Linked DNA regions of Homo sapiens: all the other regions are linked to region 1. Evidence: promoter capture Hi-C in 16 types of primary human blood cells and fetal thymus (Javierre and others, 2016). All regions are on one chromosome and are shown on one strand. The core of a region is centred on a gene start or on the middle of the fragment in contact, and the rest is flanking DNA. Distances in the headings are between cores, read along the strand shown. Region 1 holds the start of LIPE (lipase E, hormone sensitive type). Region 2 holds the start of GRIK5 (glutamate ionotropic receptor kainate type subunit 5). Region 3 overlaps POU2F2 (POU class 2 homeobox 2). Region 4 overlaps POU2F2 (POU class 2 homeobox 2). Region 5 overlaps LNROP (long non-coding regulator of POU2F2). Region 6 overlaps POU2F2-AS2 (POU2F2 antisense RNA 2).

Region 1 (3,830 bases), core at 409-2,908:
CAAAAAAAAAAGAAATGTTAAAAATGGTTTTAACACTAGCCTCTCCCCTTTATTTGCACCCTAGGACACCAAAGGCACCACAGAAAGCCAAACAAGCATTCCAGAGCCTGCCAGCAATTTCTCAAACAATGTCAGCTAAGAAGCTTTGCTCTGCCTTTGTAGGAGCTCTGAGCGCCCACTCTTCCAATTAAACATTCTCAGCCAAGAAGACAGTGAGCACACCTACCAGACACTCTTCTTCTCCCACCTCACTCTCCCACTGTACCCACCCCTAAATCATTCCAGTGCTCTCAAAAAGCATGTTTTTCAAGATCATTTTGTTTGTTGCTCTCTCTAGTGTCTTCTTCTCTCGTCAGTCTTAGCCTGTGCCCTCCCCTTACCCAGGCTTAGGCTTAATTACCTGAAAGATTCCAGGAAACTGTAGCTTCCTAGCTAGTGTCATTTAACCTTAAATGCAATCAGGAAAGTAGCAAACAGAAGTCAATAAATATTTTTAAATGTCACAGATCAAAATTGTTTCCTTCAAATGGGGTCTGCCAATTCACAACCAGATGACCCATTTTACCCTATTCACTGCAGACTGAATCCAGATTCTACACATACTTATCCCCACCAAGACCCTCACTCTGTCTCCATTGGCCTACTTGTTCATCTTTCACTCATTCGACAAATCTTTCTGAGGTAAGAGCGAGGTGGGACAAAAAAAAAAAAGCATACCAATGAACCAGACACGGTCTTATTAAAGATAATATAGGTTTAAAAAAAAAACTTGGCACAGTTTCTTAGCACTTAGGCAGCCTTTGGTATTTATGACTACTATCATCACCATTACCACCATCATTATCAGTCATTGTCATCAGTGGTCACTGTCTTCTGTGAGTTTCCAATCTAGTACAGGATCATAGTTCAGGGCTAGAGAGATGGCATGGAGTATCTCAAATGCCATTCAGAAGGGCCTCAAGCTATAAAAGTGGGAAGGCATGACATTAGTTTTTAACATGAGAGTTAAATGATCAGAATGACAATATAAGGAAATTAAACTAGCAACCTGGCTGGGCGTGGTGGCTCACACCTGTAAACCCAGCACTTTGGGAGGCCCGGGGGCGGGGGGTGGGGGTGGATCACTTAAGGTCAGGAGTTTGAGACCAGCCTGGCCAACATGGCAAAACCCCATCTCTACTAAAAATATAAAAATTAGCCGGGCGTGGCAGTGCACGCCTGTAGTCCCAGCTACTTGGGAGGCTGAGGCAGGAGAGTCGCTTGAACCCAGGAGGTGGAGGCTTCAGTGAGCCAAAATGGTACCACTGCACTCCAGCCTGGGCAACAGAGAAAGACTTGTCTCAATAAGTAAATAAATAAATAATCTGGCAACCATTTGTAGGAATGAACAAAGAGGGAAATAATTATTACAACAACTACAGAGACTGCCCCCTGAATGACGCTTTCCTCAGACATTAGAAGGAAAGAGAAAAAAGGAACACTCATCCAGCATCTGGCTTCTGTCATCCCAGATGACACGGAGGCCTAAATTGGGATGCTTGCCTTATGAGAAGAAACATTTTAACGGAGTGGTGGGTGGGGTGGGGCCCTATTTATGACACAAGAGAGCAAGCCCCTCCCTTCTTGTAAGAGAGTGCTAGGCACATAGCCTCCTCCTATTCCTAATCCTCCCACCAAAGAAAGAGGCACAGAGTTCATTACTTAGTGGGGGCCAGCTGTGATCGGCCAACTGCCAGCTGCCTTAAAAAGGAAGACCAGTGATGCTAGGATGGAGTGAAACCCAAGAGGAAGTGCCATCATGAGGAATCAATGAGAGATCTGTGAAGAGAGAGGGCTGGGTGGGAGCCCAGAAGGATAGAACCTGGAAGATCAATATCTCCCGTGAGGGAAATAACAATGGAGCCAGGTTCTAAGTCAGTGTCTAGGTCAGACTGGCAACCTGAACCACACCAGAGGCCTATAACCCCGCTAGAGCCTGGGCCAGAAAAGACACCCATAGCCCAGCCAGAATCGAAGACTCTGCAGGGATCCAATACCCAACAGAAGCCTGCTTCAAACCAAAGACCCCTCACCCAGCAGGAGACCCCTGCACAACATGATGCTGAATCCCAGAAGGAACCTAGAGCCCAACAAAAATCTGCTTCACAAGAGGAATTTCTTGCCCCACAGAAGCCCGCACCACAGCAATCACCTTACATCCAAAGGGTGCTGCTCACTCAACAGGAAGCTGCCTCCCAGCAGGGACCTGGGCTAGGAAAAGAATCTATAACTCAACAGGAGCCAGCATTGAGACAAAGACATGTAGCCCAGCCAGGGCCTGGGCCAGGAGAGCCACCTCCAGCTCAACAAGAAGCTGAATCAACACCTGCGGCCCAGGCTAAACCTGGAGCCAAAAGGGAGCCATCTGCCCCGACTGAATCTACGTCCCAAGAGACACCTGAACAGTCAGACAAGCAAACAACGCCAGTCCAGGGAGCCAAATCCAAGCAGGGATCTTTGACAGAGCTGGGATTTCTAACAAAACTTCAGGAACTATCCATACAGCGATCAGCCCTAGAGTGGAAGGCACTTTCTGAGTGGGTCACAGATTCTGAGTCAGAATCAGATGTGGGATCATCTTCAGACACAGATTCTCCAGCCACGATGGGTGGAATGGTGGCCCAGGGAGTGAAGCTAGGCTTCAAAGGAAAATCTGGTTATAAAGTGATGTCAGGATACAGTGGGACGTCGCCACATGAGAAAACCAGTGCTCGGAATCACAGACACTACCAGGATACAGGTGAGTGTGAATCTGGAGGAATTGAAGCCTCTCAGGGACAGTCATTCATTTACTTAAAAAATACTAAAAACTTACGGTGTATCAGGTTAGCTCTGGTCATCCTTCAACAATCCTGAGATAAAGATCAACATCCCCATTATTAAAAAAAAAAAAAAAAAAAAAAAAGGCTGGGCGCAGTGGCTCACACCTGTAATCCCAGCACTTTGGGAGGCCGAGGCAGATGGATTGCTTGAGGCCAGGAGTTCAAGACCAGCCTAGCCAAGATGGTGAAACACCGTCTCTACTAAAAATACAAAAATTAGCCAGGCGTGGTGGCAGGTGCCTGTAATCCCAGCTACTCGGGAGGCTGAGGCAGAGAAACACTTGAACCCGGGAGGCAAAGGTTGCAATGAGCTGAGATCGTGCCACTGCACTCCAGCCTGGGTGACAGAGTAAGACTCCATCTCAAAAAAAGAAAAAAACAAAGTCTCACTCTGTCGCCCAGGCTGGGGTGCACTGGTATGATCATGGCTCACTGCAGCCTCAAACTCCTGGGCTCAAGCGATCCTCATACCTCAGCCTCCGGAGTAGGTGGGACTACAAGTGCACCACCATGCCCCGCTAATTTTTACATTTTCCGTAGAGACGTGGCCTCGCTATGTTGCCCAGGCTGGTCTCGAACTCCTGGCCCCAAGCAAGCCTCCCACCTCAGCTTCCCAAAGTGCTGAGATTACAGGCATGAGCCACCGAGCACCTGGCCAACATCCTCATTTTAGAAATGAGGACATCAGGTAGAAAATAAAGAAGTAAGGGTTCTTGCACAGGGCCATGCAGTTAGGAAGTGGCAAAGTCAGGATTTGAAGCCGGGGTCTTTCTCCCCTGGACCAGGCTGCCTCCCTATAGAGGATTTGGGGAAAATCAAATCCCAGAGTGGGAAGGCACTCTGAGCTAGGGACCAGGAGACCAGGAAAGCGGCCCTCTTGCCAGTGTTCATTCATCCATCCACAGAAACTGACTGAGCACCAGCTCTGGGGTAGACACGGGCGTAAGTCCCAGCAATACAATACAAAGA
Region 2 (3,830 bases), core at 618-3,117, 360 kb after region 1:
CTGGGATTTCCGGGACAGGTTGAATTTAGAGGGGATGGTGGTTGGTTTTTGTTTTTTGTTTTTTTTTTGGAGATGGAGTCTCGCTTTGTCTCCCATGCTGGAGTGCAGTGGCATGATCATGGCTCACAGCAACCTCTGCCTCCTAGGTTCAAGCAATTCTTGTGCCTCAGCCTCCCAAGTAGCTGGGACTAAAGGAGTGTGCCACCGGGCCTGGCTAATTTTTGTATTTTTAGTAGTGACGGGGTTTTGCCATGTTGGCCAGGCTGGTCTTGAACTCCCAACCTCAGGTGGTCCACCTGCCCCGGCCTTCCAAAGTGCTGGGGTTACAGGAATGAGCCACCGCCCTGGTCGAAAGGATGGTGTTCTGTGTTGAGGTCCTTCATAAGCAAAGTCCCAGAGGCAGGTGTGAATCTGGGCTTTTAGGCCTGACTGGAGTTAAGTGTGGATGTTTGAGGGGGCGGTGTAGATGTTGACCAAGTGGGGTAAGGAGGTGTGTGCAAAGTTGGTGGTCCTTCAGCGTCAGATATATGTGTCAGATGTGTGTCCAGGATGCCCCACATGCCAGCTTGCAGAGGGCTTCCTGTGCTGGGCTGGCATGTGGTCCAGGAGTTGCCATGTGCCAGCTGTGTGTTCGAGGCATGCGGTCACATATGCTGTGGGCCGCACGTGAGTGTGTCAGTGTCTCCTCCCCATCACGAGCATCGGGGGTGGTGGTGAGTCACGGGCTCAGCCTTCGGCGCCAACTGTCATGTTTCTTCCCCCCAAATTTCACCCCCCACCCAGCCATGCACCACCCACCCCCACTCCAAGATCTGTGTCGCTTCTCTCTTCCATCCCCCTGTCCTGCTCAGCTCCTTCTGAGAGGCTGCAGGGTGTTCCCTGGGAAGGAGTCTCCCACTTCTGGCTCTGCCCTCCAGCTTCCTCTCCTTGTCCCATCCACCTTTCCCACTGCCTCTCTGCTCCTGTGACTAGAGAATGAGGGCCCCTTCTCTCCACCCACTCATCTCTGTGGGTCCCAAGGATTTCTCTGTGCACTATAGGGAATTCTCATACTCACCACCCATCCCCTCACCTCTATAGGAGCTATTTATATTGGGGGAGGCTTGCCCCGCATCTCCAGGCTGGCAGCTCCTGCCTCAGTGGCTCTCTTGTGTCTATGAGCCACATCCTTGTCTTTTTGGTACCCTGGTGTCTGTAGGCCTCCCTTGTTTCTGTGACCTTCTTCGGCTCTCCTTGGCTCTCTCCCTGCCCTGTGGACCGCTCCCCATATCTGAGGAGTGCTTTCTGTTTCCAGGGGCCTCTCTCTTGTGTCTCTGGCTTCTCCCGTTTTCCTTCGCGGGAGGTCTCTATGTCCACATTACTGCCCCTTGTCTCCGAGGTCCTTTTGCTTGTCTCTGTAGGCTGCTCCCTTGTCTCCATGGGCCTTTCTTTCTTATCCCTGGGCTTTTCCTGTCCTTGTCCTTGTGGGGTTTGTGGGCCTCAGCCCACTTCTCTGGACAGTCTTGACGGCTGTCTCTCTTCTCTTCATTTCTCTTCATCTCTGTAGCCCTCTCCCCTCATCTCAGTGGCCTTCTCCCTGGGTCTTCTTGCCTCTCATCTCTGTGGGCTCCTGTGCCCAGGGCTGCCTGGGCAGGGCGGTGGCATGGTGTGGTAGAGGGGGTGGCTCGGGGGTGGGCCTTCCATCCAATGCAGCTCCTTCTTCTCATCAGCATTCTCCTCGCGGGGGGCCCCCAGCCCCAACCAATACAGGCTCCCCCTCCCCCGACTCACCTCCCTACTCTCTCTTTGCCTGCCTCCCTCCCTTCCTCCTGCCCGCCCTCCTCCCTGCCTCCCTCCCTCCCTCTTCTCTCTCTCCTGAACCACCCCACTGCGCTCCAGGACCCAGCGCAGGCGGCAGGCGGGCAGGCAGGCGGCGGCCTCGGAGGGGAGACTGAGCGGTGGCGGCAGCCAGCGGCAGGGAGGCAGGCCCAGCCGGGGACTGGAGCCGGGGACTGGAGCCGGCTCCTCACAGGGGACCAGGAGTGTGTCGCCAGGCCCTCCCACTGAGGCCCAGCACCGGGAGCCCCTGGGACACCCCACCCTCCTCCGCCTTTCTCTTCCACCTGCTCCTCTCCATCCTCCTCTCCCTCCTCCCTATCTCTCCACCTCATTTGCCCCCTTCTTGGCCTCTCCGGGTCTCCCAGCTCTCCATCCTCCCCAGCTCTCCACTCCCGGGCTCTCCCCGCCCCCAGCATGCTTTTCCCGTGGGGGCTGAGGGCTTGAGGACTCCGGGCCCTTGCCTCAACCAGGGCAGGGCCCAGGCTCCAGGGGGGAGGGGGAAAGGGGGCGGCCCCCTCCCCCAGCAGGCCCTCCCCTCCCCCACTTCTCCTGATGGCCGGCTTCCTTTTCTCCACCCAGTCCTCGCCCCCTGTGGCCCCCCCAGGCCGGCCCGGCTAGGGGAGGGGGCGGGGGCCCTTTCCTGGGCCAGCTTCCCCCTCCCCCGGCTTTGCCTGTGCCCCCCCCTTCCGTTTTCACCTTCCTCTCCTCCTTTCCTCCCTCCTTCCCCTCCATTTGCTCCTTCCCCCTCTCCTCTCTCCCCTTCTCTCCTCCATTTTCTCCTTTCCCCTTCCTCCCCTCCCCGGCCCGCCCTCTCCTCTTCCACCTGTCCTTCCTCCCTGCTCCTGTGGAGCCACCGTTTTGGATTAGTTGGGAGCCACCACCGGCGGCGGGGGAGGGGGCCCTGTGGACTGCCCTCTCCCCCCGCCCAGCCCCACCACCACCCAGCGCCAGAGCACCTCCCGCTGTCGGTCTTCGGGCCTCGAGGGAGCCCAGCCCTCCGTCCCACCAGGATCCGTGAGTGTCTGCAGGGCAGGGATTGGGCTGGGTTCTGGGTCCTGGAAGGCTGGGCTCTGGTGCCGCCTGGCAGGGGGGCACCACATTCTCCCCGTTCTCCGGACTGGCAAGTACCCTCCCCCACTAGGGGCCTGCTCTGCGCCCTCCATCTCCTCAGCGTCCATTCACCTCGACCTCTTCTCACCTCTTCTTCTGGGTACATAGCTCACTGCCGCCCCTGGCCCTCTAGCTTTCTGGGGTCCTACGGGGCTGATTGCTCTTACTTGGGCTCTCACTTACCCCGGGCCCCTGGCATGTCCGTGCCCCTGCTGTCTCCAAGCCTCCGTCCTGGTCCCAGACTGGCTCTTTCTGTTCCTCTGAGCCTCATCCTCTGCCTGCGGTGGGCCTTGGCCCTGTCCCCACCCCGTCCAGTCTCTATCTCCTGGATATGTCTTTCCGCTTTTGAGCCCCCATTTCCTGTGTCTCTTGGGCCCCTCTCTGACTCTGCCCAACTTCTCTCTTTGCTGTTAGCCCAGGTTGCTCTCGGCATGTCTCTGTTTAGATCCCTCTCTCTGTCAGAACTCCTCCACCCTGGCTTCCCTCTTTCCAAGTCTCCCTCGGCAGGTCTCTTTCCATTTCTCTTTCTATTCTGTGCCTCCGCTCACCTGTCCTCCTCCCTCTCTCTGCCTCTGAGCTTGGAGGCTGTCTTCCCTCTGTCACTTTTCCACCTCTTTCCCCCAGATCCACTCTGGGTGCCCGGCTCCTCAGTCCCTCCCTCCTCAGCTGCTGCCCCACCTCTCCGTGGTCCATGCTGACTTTTCCTGGCTGGTCTGGCTCTTTCCACTCCCATTCTCTCTCCCGACTTCTGTGTTACCTCGCGTGGCCTTTCTGCTCCCATTCCTCTCCATGTCTGGGGGCTTTCAGGCCCCAGGATCTCCTGCTCCCCCACACGGCATTCCTGAGTGTCTTGGGGTGGCTATGCCTCTGTGTGGGTCTGGCCTCTCCTGCAGGTGCTTGCC
Region 3 (3,830 bases), core at 926-3,425, 340 kb after region 1:
AACAAACCAAAAAAAAAAAAAACCCACAAAATCAAACAAACCAAAAAACCAGTCGCGAGCCAGACCTCAGCGTGCTCACCCTCACTGCTACGACGCCAAATAAAAACCCCAGCCAGGGGCGGAGAAGCCTCCAGCAGGTCAGACCTCATGCCACCGAGCCCTGGCTGTGGGACCAACCCCCAACCCTGCCTCCCCCGTGGGGGCTACAGAAGGAAAAAGAGAAGATGCCAGCTTCCTAATCCCAGCCCCCAGCCCTGGGCCAGCGAAGACAGGGCACAGCCTGGGCAGATGGGCTGGGGCTTAGCACCACCCACCAAATGTTCTTTTCCAGAAGGTGAAAGAGAAAGGGCCTGAACAACCTTACACCAAATATTCAGTAGCTTCATCCAAAGGATGTACAGAATTTTTAGCATTGTGCTCAACAGAATGTGTCCCTACCATGTGTCCCCTTCTCCCCTGGCCCCCAGCTCTCCCCACCTGGGCAGGGGGTCTTGCTTTAACCTCCTCCCTCCCCCCAGCAGGGGAGAGTTCAAGGGAAGGCCTGCGGACAACTTTTCATCCCCTGTTCCTCCCTCTTTTCCCCTTTGAAGGGTGGGCTAGGCCATTTTGCCAAGTTCTAGCTCTCACAAGTCCCTCCTCAACCCTGTCACCCTCCTCTGCTCTGGAACTGACTCCCTCCCCAGCCTATGGGAAGGTGGAAATTTCAGGCAAGAGGGGATGAAGACATTCAGTTGAGGGCATTCAGTTGTCTTTTTCCATCCTGTCTGTTTCCCTGAAAAAAAAAAAAATTCATATTCCAGTGCCTATCCGTGGGATCCTTCACGTTCTTTGACATTAACCAGAAACCAAAAAGAGAACTCACCTCGCTTTTCCCACCCTGTGCCCCTCTGGTACTGGCGAATGCCTCTCCCTCCCCCCACATGCACGCACGCACACACCCCAGTGGTGGGGTTCCTCGAGATGGCATCCCCATCAGGGTCCATGTGGTGGGGACAGTGCCACAGCCTGTGGTCCCCATCTGAGAGGGCGCGGTGGTGGCCACCACTCCCACAAGACCTCCACAACTCTTGGCTGGACCCTGTGTTTGACCAGCCCCGGACACGTCTCCACTGACGACGGACAGAGGAGAGACACCACTGGGAGCCACCCTGCCCTCCTGCTATTGTGGAGGCCAACAAAGTTTTGAACCGAAAACCAAAAAAACAGAAACAAACAAACAATAAATTTAAACTAGAAAAAAAATTTATATATATATATAAACATATATATATATATATATATAAAAGGGAAAGAAGATGAGGACTCTTCAAGAATAAGATGGAACCGCGAGGCGGAGCCAAGCCCCTGCACCGGTGGTCCAGGCCCTTGTTCCCCAAGGCGGATGGAAGGACGGATGCTTCTTTCTCTTCACAAATACCTCATGGACGTTGTCTTTGGGAAAGCCGGAGGGGGCGGCTGGGGCAGGGCCTGTCCCTCGGCCAGGGCAGATGGAAGCGGGTGGGCGGGGCTGAGAGAGGGTATCAGGGACAGGGGTGAAGAGCCCCAAACTCCCCTCCCAAATCAACTGAAAAAGCTTTAAAAAAAGACAGGAAAAAAAGGAGTAAGAAAGCAAAAAGAACAGATGAAGGAAAACTTAACAACTTTTGGGTGGTTTGATTCCTCCTTTGATTTCTTTTTCGGTTCTCTTTTGTCTGACCTCTCTCCTCCCCTCCTTCCTCTCTCCTCCCCTCCTTCCTCTCTCCTCTCCTCCTTCCTGTCTCCTCTCTCTCCCTTTGCTCTCCTCTCTTCTCTCTCAATCTTGTTCTTTCTGTGTCTCTCCTCAAACCAAAGTGTTGCAGTGAAGGACACGAGCCATTGAAATCAGGGTGGGGCCTGACAGCCGTAGTGTGGCCCCTGCCCCTTGTTGGGCAGGAGCAGAGAGAGAGGAGAGCCCTGAGACCGCAGGGCTTTGGCCTGGGCAGCTTCCACTTTCTGCCGGACACTCTGAGGAGAGGCAGATGGAGCTCCAGGCCTCAGCGTTCTCTTTTTTCCTTGTCTCCCTTCTCCCACCCGGGAAATGAAACTGTTGGGCTGGGCGACGGAGGCAGCAGAGACTCGGCCATTGCAGGGGCCTCTGGGTGCCTTGTCCGGGCAGTGGTGAAGTAGCCGCCCCTCCCACCCCGGCACGATGGGGCCTGGCACCTCGTCTACCCAACCTCACCGGAATGTAAGCATCTCCGCTGAACGACTCCCTGCCCTTACCCTACCTCTGAGTTTGTCCATGTTTATTTCCTGAAGAGAGAAGGGACTGGCAAGAGGGCTTGGGCCCCAGCCCAAGGGTGGAGAGGGGGCCAAGGGCTCCTGACCAAATAGGAAGGACATTTGAGCAGAGCAAAATGAAAGGAATTACAACCAAAAACCCCCTCCGAGAAGACAGGCAGCATGGAAGGCATGGTGGAGATGACTCAAACAAAAACTATGATTCTAGACCAAAAAGGAAAAAAAAAAAAAAAAAAGGAAAGAAAATCCAGGACTCACCACCACCCACTTCATCCTGCTTCCTCCCCATCAAGTCCCACCACCTGGGACCTCTCCCCACCCCAGTATGTGGGAGTGGGGTAAAGAGGAGAGGAGGAGCAGGGGGCAGGGATGGGGCAGATGCCCTGATGTTGGTGGAGGGACCCCTGTGCAGCCGGGGGTGCTGGGGACCCTCCCCATCCAACCCTCACACCTAGGAAAAGAAAAACAAGAAAAAAAAATTCCTGGGAGGGGGAAAAATAACCAAATCCCAAGCTTTAACTACAGCTGTGAAACCAAATATTGGGAAGGGGGTAGGAGGGAGGGAGGGGCAGGTGAGCCCCAGGTCTCCCCCTGGGCCCCCCTCCCCTGAGGACTCGAGATAAGGCACCAAATACCTCATAGAACTTTAATGTTAAAAAAAGGAAACCAAATATCGTTGGCTGGGGGCCAGCCAGGGCAAGGGGCTGGGGGGCTGGAGGGAGCCAGGGTTGGGAAGGTGATGGGGGAATTCATGCCCCCCACCCCCATCTGCCCCTTACACTCTGGTCCCCCGTCTCGACTCCGGGAAACAAAACTATCTCATCGTTTTTATTTTGTGGTCTGTACAGAGCCTGTGTCCGTGTGTCTGTGTATGAGCGAGAGAGTTGGAGGGCTGGGGAGCTTTATGTGGGGGATGGGGAGGGCAACCCCAGGCTAGGCTATGGGCTAGGTTAGATGTCCGAGGTTGGGGGCCAAGGGCCTGGGCTAGAAAGAGAGGAGAGATGAGTGGGTTGGAGCAGTGGGGAGCCCTCTGAATTTCTCTTCTCCCCAACCCTGACCTCCTACTTAAGGGAGGGACAGAGACTGGGTCTACCCTAATGGTGGGCCTTTTCATTGTGCCAAAAAAAAAAAAAAAAAAATTGATGCCAGTAACTAAACCACCTCTCTCTGTTCTCTTCTGGGGGGTGGGGTGGGTGTGTGTGTGGGGGTGGGTAGGGATGGGGAACCCAAGCCCCAGTAGGAGTTGGGGCTGAGATCAGGAGGAGGGGAAGGATATGAGTTTTCCATCCATCTCCCTGGAGAAGGCCATGACGGGCTCTCCAAGCCCTGGGGAGATCTGGCGAGGGACTAGCCAAGTCAGGGTGACCTCTTGACCTGACTAGTTTTTCTAACCCACATGAACACCAGGGTGCCTCTCTCTTCCTCTAGCCCAGGGTAGGGGGACCTGAGTGAGAGAGAGAGTGAGACAGACAGCAAGATTGAGACACGCGGGCCCCCACTGGTCTCTGAGTGGGAAAGGCAAGTGCGAGAGATAAAGGCCTCCAAGAGAAAAAAGAAACAAACCAAAGATT
Region 4 (3,830 bases), core at 710-3,209, 320 kb after region 1:
GGGAGTTAGAGTTGTGTGAGGCAAGGAAGGAGAGGTAAGCGGGGGTGGTGGGCAGGCCATGCAGGACCATAGCCTGGATCTGGATTATACCACAAATGTGATGAAAATCAGTAGAGGCCTTATGGCTTAATTTATATTTTAAAACAGGGACTTGGACTCCATAGACCACCCCTAGAAGAGTCTGTGCATAGAATTCAGAGTCCATGAACTTGGATGGGAAAAAAATTACATCTCAATTTTTACTATCTTCTGACCAAACCATAGCATGTCCCTCTATCATGAATATAGACAACAGACAACAGTAGTATTAGCGGTACTGAGACTTTGTCACCAAGAGAATGTACGCAGATTTTCAAATTCTCTTATAGTTGTTGCAGATCTCTCAAAACACTGTTTTCACTCATGATTGCTTTGAAATTACAGTAGTCATCAGATCTATTGCTGGATCTTGTTACTTAGTGTGCTAATAAAGAAACCCATAAATGATTTTATGACCACTCAAAATATGTTTGATGCCTATATTTTTTTAAATTTTAATTAATTAATTTTTTTTGAGACGGAGTCTCACTCTGTTGCTCGAGCTGGAGTGCAGTGGTGTGATCTCAGCTCACTGCAACCTCTGCCTCCTGGGTTCAAGTGATTCTCCTTCCTCAGCCTCCCATGTAGCTGCAACTACAGGCGCCCGCCACCACACCTGGCTAATTTTTTTTCTGTATTTTTTTGGTAGAGATGGGGTTCCACCATGTTGGCCAGGCTGGTCTCAAACTCCTGAACTCAAGTGATTCGCCCGCCTTGGCCTTCCAAAATGCTGGGATTACAGGCATGAGCCACCGCACCCAGCCAAATTTTAATTAATTTATTTTATTTTATTTTGTTTTTTGGAGACGGGTGTCTCCCTTTGTTGCCTAGGCTGCAGTGCCATGGTGTGATCATAGCTTACTGCCACCTCAAACTCCTGGGTTCAAGGGATCCTCCCACCTCAGCATCCTGAGTAGCTGGGACCACAGGCATGCACCACCATGCCTGGCTAATTTTCCTTCTCCTCCTTCTCCTTCTCCTTCTCCTCCTGCTCCTCCTCCTCCTCCTTCTCCTCCTCCTCCTCTTCCTCCTCCTCCTCCTCTTCCTCCTTCTCCTCTTCCTCCTTCTTGTTTTTTTCTTTTTGTAGAGACAGGGTCTTGCCATCTTGCCCAGGCTGGTCTCAAACTCCTGGGCTCAAAAGATTCTCACATCTAGCCTCCCAAAGTGCTGGGATTATAGGCATGAGCCACTGTGCCCAGCCAGTTTTTATTTTAGATTCAGGGATACATGTGTAGGTATGTTACAAGGGTTATATTGCATGGATGCTGAGGTTTGGGGTATAATTGTTCCTGTCACCCAGTAGTGAACACAGTACCCAGTAGGAAGTTTTTCAGCCTTTGCCCTTCTCCCTCCCTTTGGAGTCCCTAGTGATGATGACTATAATTATGTGATTGATTTCATTTGAAATTCTATATATCTGGCTGGACATGGTGGCTCACACCTGTGACCCCAGCACTTTGAGAGGACGAGGTGGGTGGATCATCTGAGGTCGGGAGTTTGAGACCAGCCTAGCCAACATGGTGAAACCCCTTCTCTACTAAAAATACAAAAATTAGCTGGGCATGGGCATGGTGGGTGCACCTGTAGCCTCAGCTACTTGGAAGTCTGAGGCAGGATAATTGCTTGAACCCGGGAGGCAGAGGTTGCAGTGAGCCAAGCAAGACTGAGCCACTGTACTCCAGCCAGGGTGACAGAGGGAGACTCCATCTCATCTCAAAAAAGAAAGAAAGAGAGAGAGAGAAGGGAAAGAAAGAAAAGAAAGAAAAAGAAAGAAAGAAGAAAGAAAGAAAGAAAGAAAGAAAGAAAGAAAGAAAGAAAGAAAGAAAGAAAAAAGAAAGATCCTATATATCATATGTTATGTGTTTTTAATTCTGAGAAGAGGGCAATAGGTTTTTTTTTTTTTCAGATGCTGAAGAATTCAGGGCACAAAAACATTTAGACCTCTATTGTTTTAGACCCCTCTCTGCCTGCCTGGGGGCGAATGGATGGTCTGGGGTAGAAGGATGGTGGTTTGGACCAGGACAGTCACTGTGGACAGGAAGAGATGTAGAGGGAACTGGGAAGACTTGCATTGCAGATGGATTGGATGGATGGGGAGAGGAAGGGAAGGTGGGATTAAGGCTGACCCCTAAGTCTCTGGTCTGAGAAACTAGACAGGGATGTGATTAAATGTTTCCCATCTGAACTTCTCACCATGAGACCTTCTGCAAACTGGGATGCACTTTCCCCATTCTTTCCTCTCGCTGGTGATTCAGAACGAAACCCACAGACACCTCTCTAGGCTTCTGGAGGAAAGGGGAATTTTCATTGAGAGTCATGCTAGGGAGGAACAGGAGTTAACAAATACTTTAATCAACAAGCTAAGGGTTATAGGAAATCAGAAAAATGCTGGTAATAAGACTTGATTTCTAGTCTTATTCATTAGATTCAATTCAGTGGGCATTTAATGGGGGCTTACCAGGTTCCGATATGAGTTAGGGATATACGAAGAATAAGATATGCCTCTGGTCTGCTAGAGTCAGTCTGGCAGAGGAAAAGTACACATAAGCAAATGCATTGACTTGGGAGACGTGTAGCACAGGGCAGGTGGGTCTCGTTTTGTGGGGCCAAAAGATTATGCAACTTGGAGTCCCTTTGAAAGAAAAAGACAATGTTTGAAACAAAAATTAGGTATGGGGCCTTGAAAGGGTTCACTGTAAATGGGGGGCCCTGAAGCATAAGTGTTGCCCGCTTCACAGTTGATCCACATCTGGAGGGAGGTGACCATGGAGGTGTTACTGGGCTGGGGGTAGCTGGGAAAGGGAAGGCAGGGTGGACATTGTTTCACAGGATAGAGTGCTAGGACTTCAGAACCCTTAAGCTGGATTCTGAGATGATTAGCAGCAAGAGTTAGAGAGGTCAGGAGCACAGGAGTACCCAGTCCACTGCCATACACGGAATAAGCAGAGGCACCCCCAGGGGGTCAGGGAATAGTGTTCAGCTGTCGAAAAGCAGGGATGTTGATCAGCAGTGACTGTTTGGGTGGGTGGGGGTGAGACACTGGGATATTTATTTACTCAGACCAGGTACATGTTTCAAATCCCAGAGGTATGAATGGATTTACAGCGTGGCCTTCTGGTATGGTTTTCCAGACATCAACTATGCATACCCAAGCAAATATCCAGATATACTCTTTTTTTGTGTGTGACACAAACAGTACCACCTCATACCCTCTGTTCTGCCTCTTGAGCTTTCCACTCAACAGGACATCCTGCAGATTGTTCCATGTCAGGACACAAAGAGACTCCTCATTCTTGCTGGTGACTGCATAGTATTCCACTGTAGAGCTCTGCCCTCATTCATCCAACCCATCCTGTCTTGCTGCATGCTCAGCTACCTTCTACTCTTTTGCCAGAATGCCACTTGCTGCTGGGAATAGCCTTCTAGAGAGGTCATTTTGCACCTCTCTAGAAGGCCATTCCCAGCCTTCTAGAGTGAGAATAGATAAATTTTTAGCAGTAGAATGGCTGAGTTGAAGGCTGTGTGCAGTTGTAATTTTGATAGACATTGCCAAATCACCCTCTCACCAGCATGTACAAGAATGTGTGTTTCCCCACACTCCCCAATGTGGTATTACACACTATTTTTATATTTGGTGATCTGAGAGGTAAAAATGATATCTCAGTGCAATTGCAGTCGTGTTTATCTTATTGCGAGTGAATCTGAGTGTATTTCCATCCAGAGCTGTTCACATTAATTTCACTGGGCACTCT
Region 5 (3,830 bases), core at 822-3,321, 290 kb after region 1:
TAGCTCACCTCTGGGTCCTCAGCTCCCAGCACAGGGCTTGGCACTGAGGGACATGAGGAAATGTTTGAATTGAAGGAAATGGGGAAGGGTTGGCCCACCTTCAGCCAGGAGCTGATGGGATCAGGAGTCCAGTGCATTGCCGAATATCAAGAAACTGACTCGAAGGCTGTGGGCGTTGGACTGTGAGCTGCAGAGGTATTCCAGCATTGCTGACTGGACAAGGAGTGGCTGGCTGTTGCTGTTGTCTCCTGAAGGATGGGGAGCATTTCACGCCTCCAAGAAGGAGCTCCATGGCTCAGTACAGAGAGATCAAGCTGTCAGGGGGACAGACCTGGGCTTAAATCCTGACTCCACCACTCATGCTGTGTGACTTGGGGCAGGAGACTTCACCTTTCTGAGGCTCAATTTGTTAGTAAAATGAGGATGATAGCAGACCTTTACCTCCTCAGACTGTCATGAGGACTTAGAAATAATATATTGGTTCAAATAGCACAGAGTAGTCCAGGCACAGTGGCTCACGACTGTAATCTCAGCACTTTGGGAGGCTGAGGCGGGTGGATGGCTTTGAGCCTAGGAGTTCTGAGACCAGCCTGGGCAACATGGCAAAACCCATGTCTCTACTAAAAATACAAAACTAGCTGGATGTGGTGGTGCACGCCTGTGGTCCCAGCTATCTGGGAGGCTGAGGTGGGAGGATGGCATGAGCCTGGGAGGCAGAGTTTGCAGTGAGCCAAGATCATGCCACTGCACTCCAGCCTGAGTGACAGAGCCAGACAGTCTCAAAAAAAAAAAAAAAAAAGGAAAGCATAGACCACAATGCTGTGGGGGCTGCTGCTGCTAATGAAGACAAAGAGGAAGATATATTTTAAGTCCCTGAATGCTGGATACTCCTAAGCAGAACTTGACTTTGACTTAGGGCTGCTGGAGAAGCAAAGGGGCACTTCGGGTCTAGAGGGCAAAGCAGGTGTGTAAACAGGAAATAGGCTTGAGGTCATGTCTGTAATCCCAGCACTTTGGGAGGCTGAGGTGTGTGGATCACATGATCTCAGGAGTTCGAGACCAGTTTGGCCAATGTGGTGAAACCCTGTCTCTCCTAAAAACACAAAAATTAGCCTGGCCTGGTGGTGTGCACCTGTAATCCCGGCTACTCGGGAGGCTGAGGAGGCGTGAGATGCGCTTGAACCCAGGAGGCGGAGGTTGCAGTGAGCCGGGATTGTGCCATTGCACTCCAGCCTGAGCGACAGAGTGAGACTCTGTCTCAAAGGAAAAAAAAAAAAAAAGAGCCTGGACTTTAAAAATAAAGCTAAAGCTTAATTTAATTTTTTTTAAAAGGGGAAATAGGCTTGAGCCTAGAAGCCAGGAAAGTGGGCAAGAGTGGCAAGCAGTGTCTCGGGTGGGCCAGAGCTGAGGCTGGGCATGGTTTGAGGGTCTCTGAGGCCCACTGGGGGACCACATGGCCCTGCAGCAGGAGCAGACACACATCTCTTTGTGTATGTGTTTGTCTGCCACCCCTATCATCCTGTTTTCCTGCCACCCCTATCATCCTGTTTTCCTGCTTGTTTGGGTCCCTAGGTTAGCTTTCCCTAACCCCCCAGAGGCTGCCCCTGGCCTGGGCGCTGCTGAAGCCCCGTGTGCTTAGATGCAGCAAGGGGACTGGGCAGAGGGAGGTGGGTATCATTGAGTCTTGGGCCCAAGTTCATCTCCTGGCCCAGCCATGGACTCAGAGTATGGCCTGAGGCTTGGTCTCCCTGTCTCCTGCCAAGCTAGGGGTCTGAGGAGCCTCTCTGAGCTCCCACATGCCACAGCCCTACAGATGAGGGCAGTGCCTATGGGGAAAGAACCCTTGGGTTCCCTCACAGAGCAAGGATGATGCTGGGGGCTGAGTAGAGAGATCACCAAAGCAGCAGACATTCAGAGAGAGGCTGGGGAACTGAGCCACAGAGAGGGTCCCCAGGGGTGGCCAAGAGGAAGAGGCCATGGCTGGGGGGCCCTGAGGGGTGAAGAATCTCGCTCTGCTGTCCCCGGTGGGCTGGCTGCTCCCCCCCACCACTCCCCGCCGGGCCCCCGGGGGACCTCGCTCTAATAATGTATTTGATCGACTCGCCGGCCGCGTACAAGCGATTATTGTCTTGTCGGGAGTCAAACGTATCGATCCGGCGAGAAATATGAGCGGAGCAATGGGGCCCGCGTGTCAGTTACCAGCCCCGCTGGCCCTGGGGAGCCCCCTACGTCTCCTTTAATTACCGCTCAGCCCTGAGCCCAGCCTGGCCTCCCCTGTACCGCCTCCCTCCCAGCTCCCTGCACCTCAAGTGGCCCCCACTGCTCCCTAGCTCCCATGCCCTACCTGCCTCCCTCAGCATGGCTCGAGGCCTCTTCTGTGGCAACGAGGCCACCATCTCCCCCTGCCTTGAGCCTCCCTGTTCCAGCTGCCAGTGTGTTCCAAACTCTGCCCCTCTATCCTCTCTCAGGCAGGCCCATCCTCCTTCAAGATCCCCTCACCAGGCCCAGCTCTGGTCTGAGGCACTGAGAATGGAGCCAGCATGGGAGGCGAGAGGTGTGGGGTTGTTTCATCTCTCAGGGAGCGTATACAGCCTTCCCCGGCTCCAGGACTGAACTGCAGACCTGGCCGCACTGGAAGTGGGTGGTCCTTCTCTGCTGGCTCTAGGGGGCTGGAATGGGGTCACATCCAAAAGCGTGTTCCTGACGTGGATGATGTTGAGTCTGTCCAGGGTGGAGCATAAGGGTGGCTGGTGAGGTTTTGCCCCCCCCCATAATGTCCTATAGCCCCATTTCCAAGCCCCCCAAAACAAATCCTAACTGAAAACAAAGCTTACTGCGTAAATGTCGCTTTGAGACAAGGCTCCAGTGTCCACTGCTACCAGGCTGCTGTCGGGAAGACCCTCATGTATAGAAATCCTGTGGCCAGTTGCTGTGTGGTCTGTGGATCTCCTCTGTGAAATGGCCTTTACGATACGGGATGTTGTGGAGTGTAGATGCCGGGAAACGGTCACCTCTCGTGTGCATATATGAGAACTGCCAGTCCTTCCTGTTGTGCCCACCTGCTTGCCTGGGTGTGTCTGGGTGCACAGGGCACGTGTGCAGTCAGGGGAGGGCACTCCTGTAGTTGTGCCTGTAGTATACCCTTTCTGAGTGTGCCTGTGTGTGAGTGGGTGCGAGTGGCCAGGAAGTATGCTTGGGCACATATGTGTAGAAGTGCCCTTGTGCCCATGGGTCCATGTGAGGGAGTAGAGGAGGTATCAGTATATGGGAGTGACCATCGTCAGCAGGGAGGGCTGGTGTTGGGGCCTGTGCACATAGATGTGTTCATGCACGTGTGTGTGCACACGTGTGTGTGTGTGAAGTGCTGGGGTTCATCTGTAGAAATACTTGTGTGTGTGAGGGTGAGTCCAGGCGTCTGTGCATGCACCTGTGGTTTAGGGGGCCCCCCAGCCACGGGGCGCAGGATGTCCTGCGGGGCCCAGGCGGGCATGTGGGGTGTCTGGAGACGCCAGGCAGCCCCACAGCCTCAGACCTCGGGCACCAAGAGGAAGAGGGCAGCGGACTCGGGCGCGCCTTTGTCTGAGCTGCGGTGCGCCGGGAGTCCTGCGCCTTTGTGTGACCCTCGCAGGTGTGCGAGCGGAGGTGTTGGGAGGGTGTTGGGGAGGGGAGCGGAGGGAGGGGCTCCCTTCTCCGCAGCCGGCCCCGCCCTCCGGCCCATTGGCTGGGCGCTGCCGCCCTCTGGCGGGCACGGAGGGAAGCGCTGAAATGGGAGCGCCGCAGCGCGAAGAGCCAGCCGGCAGCCCGGGGACCTGGTGCTCCCCTCCACTGGA
Region 6 (3,830 bases), core at 771-3,270, 270 kb after region 1:
AAAAGACACAACGGCCTTCAATGTGGAGCGGTCCCAGGGTCACAGAGGTAACCCAGACATAAGCAACAGGCATGTGCCCCAGGGTGCTCACACACCCTGAGGGGAGTCCTGAATGCCTCGGAAGCAGAAGCTTTGCTCTAGGTGAGCGGCTTTCATCCTGGGTCTGGTGAGGTGACGTGGAAGGAACAGAATTCAAGGCTGCATGAGGAGGATGTTTAGCCGCACATGAGGACATTCTCCCATGGCCAAGAGTGTAGGTATGGCGGGGGGGCTGCCCTGGGATGGGAGGCGCAGGCCTTAAGGGCAGTTCAGGTTCTTCAGACAAGCCGGAGAAGCCAGGGCGTGGTGTCAGGGACTTGTCCACATGCCCCAGGCCCAGTCTGCCTCCTTCTGAATTACACCCCTGGGGGCTTTGGCTAGTGGAATAGGGTGTGTGCTATTCCAGATGTGGCTTGAAGGATGGCTGGGCTGGGACAGAGCTTTAGTGTAGAGGCAGCTCTGGGATGCTGGTGGGCTATGGCCGTGTGGTGGGACCTATAGGGTGGTCTGTAACTGGCAGCTGTGTGATCTGGGTGGTGGGCAGGGGCACTCCTCGCTGGATGTGGAGTCCAGATGTGAGGGTCTGTTTAGCATTCTGGGGTGCTGGGAGGTGGCAAGAGATTGCTTGATCCTTTTGGCTGCCTGTGCTCTGTCACTGGGTGGGTGGAGACAGCTGTGGACTGGGAATATTTGTCAGCCATGGGGTGGGGATTATAGATGTGTAGGAGGTAAAAATGGCTTGCATCTCTGAGCCAGTTCGGGGACCAGTGGGTCCCTGGAATCCCTGACAGTCCCACAGCAAATGAAGGTCAAGTACCCACCATCCTGGTAAGCATGGAGCCCCAGGTGCCGAGAGCAGGCACTCGGCTCTGACTTCAAATAGAGAGACGTTCCTCAGGGCTCTTCGAAGCACTGGTGAGGGCTGGTAGGCAGAGAGAAGGCCTCAGAGAACGGCCCTGGGTGTTTTCAGCTGCGCTTGTTAGAAATCTTGATGCGCGCCCCACCCCCACCCCGTGGTTGTTGGGCTCACGCTGCCCTGCCAGGTCTCTGCCCCTGGCTTTCCTTCCTTTCCTCTTCCTCTCCCTTTGGCTCCAGCCCCAGCATCATCTTTCTTCCTTTTCTTAGTCTTCATTATGTGTCTTGGCCTCTCCATTCCTCCCTGGTCAGCTCCTTTTTTTCTGAGCTGGATCTCTGTGTTGAGTGTTGCCTGTGGGTTGAGTCTTAGCTTTTGTCTCCAGAGAGAGCCACACTGAGATCTGGAGGCTGGGGAGATCCAGAGATCCGGCCTGGGGTGGGTGTGAGGTGGGGTAGGAAAGAGAGGAGGATAAAAGGTGATTGAGGGAAAAACAAGAAAGGAAGTATTCACCCACTCCTAGCACTCCAGGACAGCTTCTGAGGTCCTTTACACAGTGATCCACCCTTGCTTTTCTCAAACTTTCAAGCAATCCTCCTGCCTCAGTCTCCTATGTAGCTGGGACTACAGGCTAGGACCACTGTGCCCAACCTTGCTTTTCTTGGGGACGAGGTGGATAGGAGGGCCAGAGGGATTGTCTAAGAAAGGGGAATCCAGAATACACCAGATGGGAGTGGAGGGAGAGGGAGACCCAGGGAGCATGCACCTCATGACAGAAACACAGAGAGGGGAACAGAGCAACGGAGAGGAGCAAAGAGGAAGAGGAAACAGCAGAAAAGTCAGAGGCAGGAAAGCAGAGTGAGGGACTCAGAGACAGAAAGGAACAGAGAGAAAGAGAGGGCGCGTGCATGCGAGCTGAGCGCATGAGAGTGCATCAGAGAAAGATGAAGGCAGCCGGGCTGAAGGCAGGGGACAATGAGAAAGAAAAAACAGTGCGGGGCAGCTGCAGCTGAGGCAGGTGGGCAGGACTGTGGGGCAGGAAGGAAGGACCTCACACCTGGCCCCCCACCCCCCAGGCTGGCCATGCCTGGCAGAGTACGAGGAAATTGGCCAAGGCCCTGGTGTGTGTGGACTGTGTGTGGAGGGTGAGGTGGCGGTGTGTGGTAAGGAGGGATGTACTGCTCTCCCTACCCATGTGATCAGGTCCCAGTCGGCTCTGGCTGGTCCCTGAAGCTACCTGAGATCATCCCTGTCCATTCACCCTGTCCCCTCCCCACCGTGGCTCACAGGGGCCCAGAGGAACGTGGAAAAAGGCTTGAGCATCCCTGACTTCTGGCCTGGGGAATGGGGAGAAAGGTGTGTGTGTGTGTGTGTGTGAGAGACATCACTTTGGACGTGATCCCCTTTCAGTTTCTCTCTAGCTTTGCCATCTCAGAGTCTCTAGTGGGTTACCAACTCCCCTCCACCACTATCTGCCGTCTGCCTTTTATCTCTCTGGTCTCCTTTCTCTCTCACTCTCACTCAGCCTTTCTGTTCCTCTCTGTGCATTGCCCCCTTTCTAGTTCTCCCTGCCTCTGGCCCCCGTTCTCTCTTTATCTGCGTCTTCTCTCTGTGTGGCTCCATCACTGGGTTTTCTGCTCTGTTGTGTGCTCTTTCTCTGTTTCTCTCTCCGTCTCTCCAGTCACTGTCTCTGCGTCTCTCTCTGTCGTGCTCTCTGCATTTGCCCTTCCTCTGCTCTTTTTCTCTGCCTTTGCCTCCTGGTTTTGGTGTCTGTGTCCCTTCCAGTCTCTTTCATCTTCTGTCTCTGCTTCTCTGTGCATCTCTCTGCGTGTGCCTCTGTCTCTCACTCTGCCGTTCTCTTTCTCTTGTCGTCTCTCGGGGTCTCTGGCTGTCCATCCCTGCCTCTGTTTGTGTCTCTCTCGCTCCCCCTCCCTGTCCCCCCCTTTTTTTCCTGTTTCTAACACCCACACTCACATCCTACCTCTGGAGTAATTGCTTTTGTCTGGGTTGGACTGGACTTGTGGTGGGGGGAGGGCGGGGGGAGCGGGTGGCGCTGGGGGGGTTGGGAGGGACGGAGGTCGCTTGGTGGAGTTGAGGTGGCATCCACCAAAGCAGGGGTGTTGAGGAGCAGAGGTACAGCCTGCCCAAGGTGCCGGGGGAGGGACGGGGGCCTGGGCCCATCCTGGCAGGGGTCTGGGGTCTCTGGCAGGGAAGGGAAAGAAGGCAGGCAGGCCCTGACATTGGGATTTGGAGATGATGTAGTGATAAAACCGGCTAGCCAGTGTCTCCGTGGCAGCCCCTGCTGCCTCGCCACCCTCCCCCACTCAGAGACTCAGGGTTGTAGCCTCTACACACATACACCGTGCCGTCTACACCAAGTCACCATGACACACACAGGGACACACCCAGAGCCTCCAGCCCACTTGTGGAAACACACTCGACCATCGGCACACAGGGACACACAGCATCACATAGACACACAGAGAAACCGCATGGACTCTCCGACACTCATGAGGAGAACCTGCTTCCAGTACACATAGAGACCACCGCGCAGATCCCTGAAGCACACGCAGCTGCCCACAGGCACAGGCACAGATCCACACGGGACCCATGGAGGCTCACGCACAGCAGCATCCGTGCTCAGACACACTCTGTCAGGGGCATGCGCACGCCAACACACACAGGCTTCCCAGAGCACATGGGAACACATAGCTACCCCATTAACTGGGGACAGAGGAGATCCCTGAGGTGTTCCTGGGATACATCCCCAAGGGACAGACAGAGACTTAGCGTCAGGGAAACACTCATGGAAGTGCATACACAGCCACCCAGTGCTCCTGGGACACATCCATGAACTCATGTTCACACACAGACATGACTCGGGCCAAGACGCTCGGGTATGTGCAGTCCTAGAATCCCCCAGCAGAGCCTGAGGACA

Evidence for each region. Contacts are between HindIII fragments. The CHiCAGO score rates a contact against its expected background, and 5 or more counts as called.
Region 2: a contact is called between the fragment with the promoter of GRIK5 here and the fragment with the promoter of LIPE in region 1, in 3 of 17 cell types (neutrophils, fetal thymus and naive CD8 T cells). The highest score is 6.1, in neutrophils.
Region 3: a fragment that was not itself captured here is called in contact with the fragment with the promoter of LIPE in region 1 in 9 of 17 cell types (fetal thymus, erythroblasts, total CD4 T cells and 6 more); the score reaches 10.7 in fetal thymus.
Region 4: a contact is called between a fragment that was not itself captured here and the fragment with the promoter of LIPE in region 1, in 14 of 17 cell types (naive CD8 T cells, total CD4 T cells, naive CD4 T cells and 11 more). The highest score is 18.3, in naive CD8 T cells.
Region 5: a contact is called between a fragment that was not itself captured here and the fragment with the promoter of LIPE in region 1, in 11 of 17 cell types (naive CD8 T cells, neutrophils, naive CD4 T cells and 8 more). The highest score is 10.6, in naive CD8 T cells.
Region 6: a fragment that was not itself captured here is called in contact with the fragment with the promoter of LIPE in region 1 in 1 of 17 cell types (neutrophils); the score reaches 6.0 in neutrophils.

Annotation. Positions count from the first base shown.
Region 1 is chr19:42,425,216-42,429,045 of GRCh38, reverse strand. It overlaps LIPE (lipase E, hormone sensitive type), which reads left to right and starts at 1,658. Exons shown (of 10, transcript NM_005357.4): 1 at 1,658-2,779. The coding sequence starts at 1,897. CXCL17 (C-X-C motif chemokine ligand 17) reads left to right here. Exons shown (of 4, transcript NM_198477.3): 4 at 65-768. The coding sequence ends at 162. The region is part of intron 1 of LIPE-AS1 (LIPE antisense RNA 1); the gene reads right to left. The HindIII fragment of the contact is 12,356 bases long and covers 146-3,830 here.
Region 2 is chr19:42,068,243-42,072,072 of GRCh38, reverse strand. It overlaps GRIK5 (glutamate ionotropic receptor kainate type subunit 5), which reads left to right and starts at 1,867. Exons shown (of 20, transcript NM_002088.5): 1 at 1,867-2,832. It also overlaps a transcript of ZNF574 not described here. The HindIII fragment of the contact is 24,593 bases long and covers 1-3,830 here.
Region 3 is chr19:42,087,163-42,090,992 of GRCh38, reverse strand. It overlaps POU2F2 (POU class 2 homeobox 2), which reads left to right. Exons shown (of 15, transcript NM_001394376.1): 15 at 1-3,830. Among named protein-coding and RNA genes, the nearest start is that of ZNF574, 13 kb to the right of the region's middle. The HindIII fragment of the contact is 1,199 bases long and covers 1,576-2,774 here.
Region 4 is chr19:42,104,078-42,107,907 of GRCh38, reverse strand. The region is part of intron 5 of POU2F2 (POU class 2 homeobox 2); the gene reads left to right. Among named protein-coding and RNA genes, the nearest start is that of POU2F2, 26 kb to the left of the region's middle. The HindIII fragment of the contact is 5,797 bases long and covers 1-3,830 here.
Region 5 is chr19:42,133,156-42,136,985 of GRCh38, reverse strand. It overlaps LNROP (long non-coding regulator of POU2F2), which reads right to left. Exons shown (of 3, transcript NR_038332.1): 3 at 1-314. MIR4323 (microRNA 4323) reads left to right here and starts at 3,473; the gene lies at 3,473-3,541. It also overlaps a transcript of POU2F2 not described here. RefSeq lists an enhancer at 3,269-3,318 and a silencer at 3,599-3,830. The HindIII fragment of the contact is 1,520 bases long and covers 1,312-2,831 here.
Region 6 is chr19:42,153,202-42,157,031 of GRCh38, reverse strand. POU2F2-AS2 (POU2F2 antisense RNA 2) reads right to left here. Exons shown (of 2, transcript NR_186341.1): 2 at 1-1,325. It also overlaps a transcript of POU2F2 not described here. Among named protein-coding and RNA genes, the nearest start is that of POU2F2-AS2, 2.6 kb to the right of the region's middle. RefSeq lists an enhancer at 1,510-2,038. The HindIII fragment of the contact is 3,776 bases long and covers 133-3,830 here.